Linked DNA regions of Homo sapiens: region 1 is linked to region 2. The links are contacts of gene promoters, found by promoter capture Hi-C in blood cells and fetal thymus (Javierre and others, 2016). All regions are on one chromosome and are shown on one strand. Each heading gives the region's core, a stretch centred on a gene start or on the middle of the fragment in contact. The rest is flanking DNA. Distances are from core to core; before and after follow the strand shown. Region 1 holds the start of TXNL4B (thioredoxin like 4B). Region 2 holds the start of MON1B (MON1 vesicular trafficking associated B).

What was found. Contacts are between HindIII fragments. The CHiCAGO score rates a contact against its expected background, and 5 or more counts as called.
Region 1: a fragment that was not itself captured here is called in contact with the fragment with the promoter of MON1B in region 2 in 1 of 17 cell types (naive CD4 T cells); the score reaches 7.5 in naive CD4 T cells.

Annotation. Positions count from the first base shown.
Region 1 is chr16:72,090,470-72,093,925 of GRCh38, reverse strand. TXNL4B (thioredoxin like 4B) reads left to right here and starts at 306. Exons shown (of 4, transcript NM_017853.3): 1 at 306-559; 2 at 3,140-3,308. The coding sequence starts at 3,177. It overlaps DHX38 (DEAH-box helicase 38), which reads right to left and starts at 79. Exons shown (of 27, transcript NM_014003.4): 1 at 1-79. RefSeq lists enhancers at 1-83, 144-193, 204-533. The HindIII fragment of the contact is 817 bases long and covers 1,108-1,924 here.
Region 2 is chr16:77,189,805-77,193,275 of GRCh38, reverse strand. MON1B (MON1 vesicular trafficking associated B) reads right to left here and starts at 2,086. Exons shown (of 6, transcript NM_014940.4): 1 at 2,018-2,086; 2 at 1,643-1,800. The coding sequence starts at 1,790. LOC124903725 reads left to right here and starts at 2,710. Exons shown (of 1, transcript XM_047435021.1): 1 at 2,710-3,368. The coding sequence starts at 2,710. The coding sequence ends at 3,054. RefSeq lists enhancers at 1,935-1,984, 2,005-2,294, 1,420-2,368. The HindIII fragment of the contact is 24,724 bases long and covers 1-3,471 here.

The sequences.
Region 1 (3,456 bases), core at 267-2,766, 5.1 Mb after region 2:
ATACTTTGCGCGCCCCCTCTATCCGCCCAAAGCTACCATAGAGAGCAGCCTGGAACACGCCCGATTCCTGGATCCAAGTGTGGAACGGTACGCCAACAGGCTCTCAAGGCCTCCTCTGGGGCTCTGATCAGACACTTCCGAGTCTCCTTGTGACCAATCACTCTTAGCCTAAGAGACTACATCCCGCCTCTAGTCTGGGGGCAGGAAAAGGAGGGGAAAAAGGTCGACCATCTTTAATACGGGCGGAGGTGACGCCTAGCTTCCGGTCAGAGCCGAGCAAGGTGGGCGGTGACTAGAAGCTCTTCCGTTTATTGGGCTGTTGAGCGGGGGCCGACCGACGGCCAGGAGTTTCTTTTCTGCGCTTGTGCGTTTTCTGTTCGGTTTCCTTCCCGCTAGCGGGGCCACGAGGGTTGCTAGGCAACAGCCCCTGGGTGACTTGGTCTTAGGGTCCTGTCCGGCTTGGGGCTGATGAAAGGAGCTGTCCGCGCCCGGGCTCTTCCGAGAAGTGGTTGCTGACAGCCACAAAGTGAAAGGGAGTGAGGCGGCGTGGACGAGTAAGGTAAGTGCTGGGGTCCCTTAGCGCTTGTGGGCCAGGAGCAGCGCAACACAGGTGACTTTAAATATGTATATCGGATATTTTGGAAAATGGAGATGCGCGCCCGGCTGTAAATAAAAATCACCCATGCGTTCACACGCAGAGATGACCACTGATTTCCAGTTGTTTTTCTGGAATACATTGTAGTAAGATTCTGTACAAAAGTGAGTTCAAGCTTTTTTTCTTTTTTTGGTGTTTCTGCAGTTGTGGCGCGCGCCTGAGGTTCCAGCTACTCGGGAGGCTGAGGCGGGAGGATTGCTTGAGCCTGGGGAGTTGAGACCAGCCTGGGCAACATAGCGAAACCCCGCCTCAGAAAAAGAGAGGGAGAGAGGAAAGCAGTGGAGTTATTGGTCAAAGAGTATGTCAGTTTTCTTTCCAGAAAGGTTTTGTGTCTGCATTCCAGCAGGAACTCCCTGTGCCTGCCCCTACCACTATCTTGTTTAATTTTTGCCAATTCAGTGACTTTGTAAACATATGTTTTAATTTGCTTTTCTTTGCTTACTGGTAAAGCTTAACTTTTTAGTTTATTTACTGTCCATTTGTACGTCTTCTTTTGGGAATTCTCTGTGGGTATCATTTACTATGGACATTTTCTTAGATGTGGTCTCAGTTTTCCTCTCCTGCTTCCAACGTTTGTCCAGTTGCACCCCTAGCCTCACCACTAACAACTTTGTTCTCCCCTTACTTTCTCCTTTCGATCAGTAACACGGAGGAACTGCTGTTTGTTTGAATTCTAGTGGGACAGATCCGTCTTCTCTTTGACCTTCCCTTTCATTGGTAATTTGTTCTGCTGCTCACATCTGATGACGTCCCTTTGGGCCATCAATGTCCCTGTTTAAAGTATGACCTATAGCTGGAACAATCTTATTTCCTATGTGAATTTTAGTTAAATAATTCCTTTTTTTTTTTTTGGAGACGGAGCTTCGCTCTTGTTGCCTTGCCCAGGCTGGAGTGCAGTGGAGCGATCCTAGCTCACTGCAACCTCCGCCTCCAGGGTTCAAGCAATTCTCCTGCCTCAGCCTCCTGAGTAGCTTGGATTACAGGTGGCATCTGCCACCACGCCCGGCTAATTTTTTGTATTTTTAGTAGAGACGGGGTTTCACCATGTTGGCCAGGCTGGTCTCGAATTCCTGGCCATAGGTGATCCACCCTCCTTGGCCTCCCAAAGTGCTGGGATTACAGGGGTGAGCCTGGCCTAATTCGTATCTTAAAATGTGACTTGTGACAAAAAAAATAGGAAAAGAAATCCTCCCTTTTCATATTTGGAACTGAATTCAAAATACCGACCATCTCAATGGAGTCTCTTATAGATGACCACAAAACTAAGCTTCTTTGTCAAAGAGTTTCTCAAAAATGAAATTTCTACCAATCATGAAAATAGATTATTGTAGTAGAAGGACCCCTGGACTAGAAATTTGGTGGCCTGTATTCTAGTCCTTGTCATTGTAGTAGAAAGTGCAACTGTAAGCAAGCTAGTTTGTAAAATGACGGGGTTGTATTAGGTCCCTTGTACCTCAGTATTTTATTATTTGTTTATGGTATTGTAGTTTTCACACACACTCTTAATTGATCTGTTTGCCGTGTAATGAGGTGCACCTAGTAAGGTGCACACGAAGAATCTTTAAGCCAGGACTTGTAATAATATAAAGTATACAATAAAGGACTGTTTAAAAAGTGTAACACATGCAAGAAATAATATGCTGCCATGACAGAGAATATGGATGTTCTCTATATAGAGATATGGGGCAATCTTCATAGGTTAGGTTTGAAATAATGAAAAGTGCTGAAGAGTAGATAAAGTGTGTGTGCTGAACATCTGCCATTGGTCCCTCCACAGCCATTCTTCATCCTCCTCTAGACTGCTCTGGGACAGGGAGGTTTGCCTGCCTCAACAGGCCCCTGCCCTCTGGTTCCAGTTGGAGTCAGCCGGTGGTTGCATGAGCAAAGGTCAGAGGGAGGGAGGAGAGTGGCTGCAACACCTAACAGCAGGCTGCCCTCCTATACACTGTCCTCTCCACTCACCTCTTTCTGCCACACAATTCTTATAACTGCTTCCTACCGTGGCTTCTTCCTCCCATGGCCTAGGGATGGGTACAGCATCCCGCTGTTACTAGCCCCAAAGTAGTACACTTTACCGTATTGTTTTTCTACACCTGCCTTAATTAAACTGCCTTCAAATTACCAAAGTTGAGAGTGTCATCGCTTTCCTGCTGGAACACTGATACAATAGGCTATCTTTTGGGGGTGGGGAGAGAGAGAAAAAAAATATCGGAACGCATATTTGTATTTTTTGGTGAATGCATAACAAAACTCTGAAAGATACATGAGAAACTAATGAAAGCAGTTATCTGGCCCGGGGGAGGGAACAATGAAAACTGGTTCCAAGGAGCAGGGACAAAGAGAGGGAAACTCCACAGTGTTACCTTTCTATGATGTTTCTTTCATACCATGTGAATACATTAGCTACTCTGTGAATTAATTTTTTTTAATGAGGGCTCACGCACTTAATCTAAACTGTCTTTAAACATTGCACCTTTATTTCAGGAGTGACAGTGAGGATTCACATTTGGGTTATTTCAAGATGAGCTTCCTACTGCCCAAGCTGACTAGCAAAAAGGAAGTAGACCAGGCGATAAAAAGTACTGCTGAGAAGGTGTTGGTTCTCAGGTTTGGGAGAGATGAAGATCCTGTCTGTCTGCAGCTAGATGATATTGTAAGTGAATGTCTAAAATAATTGGTTTTTATTAATAATCTGTATATTCTCACTTCAGCATCTGAGTAGTACATGAGAGGGAGTAGTCAGGGTTGGGTATATAGCTGTTCATTTGTTAGTTCACTAAGAGCTGATTGTGTGCCTGCCC
Region 2 (3,471 bases), core at 837-3,336:
TCTCCACTAACATTTAGGTTCCAATGAACTTCCTAAAACCCTAATAAACCAACATATTCTCATTGTTATTCCACTGGACTTGCTATGTTCCTACAGACCAATTACTTCCCTTTCAATCACTGTTATTCCAAAGTCTTCAAAGCACCCCATTGACTCTGGATGACGATTATTCATCTTCAATGATCCCCCATTAACTCCTCTGACCGCTATTTTTTCTCCTGATATCTGCTCACCCAATGGCCACCATTAACATCTATTAATATCTTAACTGTTTGAATGCCCCAACCCCCGCTACTACCCTATCAGTGATGCCCACTGATACCTGATGACCCCTACTAACTCTCCTGGTTGCCCATTTATATTCTTGGTAATGTCCACTATTTCTCCCAATGACTGTCGTTAATATCCACTAACACCCAGATATTTAGGACTCCCCTAATCCACTATTCACTCCCACTGTGGTTCACAAACACCCCAATGACCCCACATTAACAATCATTAACACCTGGTTTTTCAATGACCCTCCATGACTGCCCTGATCCACAAGTTATTCTACTCCATGTCTACTCCCCCCTACCCCCAACAATGACCATCATTAACCTCCACTAACACCCAGCACTTCAGAGACCTTCAGTCACTCCCCTGACCACCTTCAATCTCATTGGTATCCACTCCCCTCCCTACAGTAACCATCATAATATCCACTAACACACAAGACTTTAATGACTTCCATTGCCCCTACCCATGACCATCATTAACATTCACTAAAACCCACAACTTCAACAGCCCCTACTGACACATCCATTTATTCCCATTGATTTCCATTCATCCCCCAATGACAACCATTATTATCCATGTGCAACTATGTCTCAATAATTTTCCCATAAAATCCCAATAATTGCATATTCTGTCACTGACATTCACTGACACTCCCATGTCCCCAAATATCTTTACTCCCTCCTAATAACTGCTCTTACCTGCTATTAATTCCCAAGTCCTCAACCTCCCCATCCACATTTATTCTCAGTGAGGTCCACTGATCCTTCCCAATGACTCCATTTACATCCACTAATTCCAAAGTGATCAATGGCACAGACTTCTCAGTGACTTCCATTAAATCTCAAATGAACAACTTTACACATCCACTAACATTTGGTCCCTTAAAGACTTCCCCAACAGTCTACAAGTGACTTCAATGATGTAAATACTCTGAGTGCCCATCGAACTCCACTGATTCCCCTTCCCACTTCTATTATTTAATAAATAACACCCTACTCCTCAAAAACACTAACTTCTCAACAGTCCTCCTCTGTTGAGTCTATTGACTTTCTTCAGCGCATTCTTTGATCTAAACACTCTAAATCCTCAGTGACCCTCTTTGGTCCTAACAGCCCCCTTTTTGATTCCTCAATGACCTAAACTCACACCAAACCCCCAGTGAACATCCGTTGACAGCCAATGACTTCCTCAATGATGTAAACTACACCATGTGTCCACAGTGACCTCCTCCTGACCCGGCGATGGTTTAAGCCACTTCTCTTAAGTCCCAAGACTCCCTACTGGTCACCCACTGACCCTTCCCCCGTCCAACAATGACAACCCCTAAGGATTCCTTTTAAGACCCCACTAAGTGGAGTCATACCTGTTTCCTCCAGGCCCTCGTCTTCGGGATCCGGCGGGACCGCGTGAACCCCTCCACCTTCTCTAGCTTCCTCACTGGGGAACTGCGTGTCCTCCAAGTCCTCCGCGCCCCCGGGGGCCGGGGCAGCAGTGTCTCCTCCGACCTCCATCTGCACATCCCTGAGTGGGAGGGGAATCGAGGGTGACGGGCGGTGAAAGAAACTTCTGAAAAGCCTTTATAGAGTCAGGCCCCCTTGGACACACTCCTACTGCTCATTTCCCCACGGATTTCAATAGGACGAGACATCCAAAATCATGCCCAAATACGTCCCCCCTCCAACACTTTCCGAAAAGAGGAGACTCTACTGGGCCTCAGGAAATAGAGATATACAAACACCTGTTTTAACTCCGAATCTCAATTGGCCGGATACCATTACTTCCCCGTAGCGGCGGTGGCATCACACTTCCGGGTGCGGCCCGGGAGGTGCCACACTTCCGGGTACGACCCCTCCCAGAAGACACTTCCGGTTGCGGAGCTTTATTGGCTCCTCGCGGCGTCCCTCTCCCGCCGCCTACGGGTGTCCCCTCATAGTTGAGATGGCGCGGGCCACTTCGGATCTACGTCAGGTCTGTTCGGGAGCGCAATGAGACCTCTCTGCACTCCTTTCAACGGATCTGGCTACGGCTGCTAACCCGGGAGAGCGAGGCCCACTTCGCTTACCAGTGGTTGGCGTGAGGGGGGACGCGGCTCGCTCTAGCCAATCCCGGAGTACATAGGGCGCGACCGTCTTCTTTCTGGGCCAATCGAGATGAGCCGCCTCATTTCCCCGCTGTCTACTCCCCCCGCCAAATCCTAACCAATACTGTGCGTTGTGTTGCGTTTGCACACGCCCATCCATTGATTGACGTCTCCCTCGACCCAATCGAAGACTCGAGCCTATTCCTTGTTTCACAAGAGGACTTTTGCAGCGTCAGTCCCGATGGATACCTGTGCCGGACCCACAAACGGGCTCTCCCAGAACTGAGGCAACTCCACTTTCTCTTATCCCTTAACCCTGCCAAGAAAGTCAAGGGAGGGGAGAGGCGCGAATGCTTGACGGGCAGTCGCCGCTTCTAATCAGCGTGCCGCGCCAGCAGCTCCGTACCCTGCCGGGTTCCCACGTCTACCTGCAGCTGGGGGAAGAACTCTGCCAGCCCAGGGCAGGGGCGGGCACTCACTTGGACCAGGACCTGCCCGACGCCCCCGGTCCGCCGGGCGAACGGGTCGTCACTTTCTGTGATCAGTTTGGGAAAAGGCTTGGGGGCCCTGCCACGGGCCAGTGTGGGAACCCAGGGTTCGAATTCCCGCCCCGACGCTGCTTCCGGACCGAAAGCCCCCTGAACGCCTTGCCCCAAGTGCCCTGGGCCTTGGTTTCTCCATCAGTGAAACAATGATGGGAATCGCTTGACGTGAAGTGAGTGGAGGTGCTGGCACACTTCGAGTGATTGCTAAGGGGAAGCCTTTGGTACTAGTTAGGATAATTATTTTAATTACAGTATAGTTAGGGTAATGAATTCCAAATACCAGTGTAGCATCATGTGCTTTATATACAATAGGTAATCGATAAGTAATAAATATTAAATTTATATAACAGAAACAATGGATAAATTTATGTGCATACAAAATATATTTACCTAATACATTTAGAAGTATATAATATATAATAAACATGTAAAAAAGTACAATAAAATAACATCTCATAAGCAAACTTATTTATTAATCTCGCTGTGTTACCCAGGCTGGAGTGCAATGGCAAAATGTTATTGACTCATTGCAGCCTCCGTCTCCCGGGTTCAAGCAATTCTCCTGCC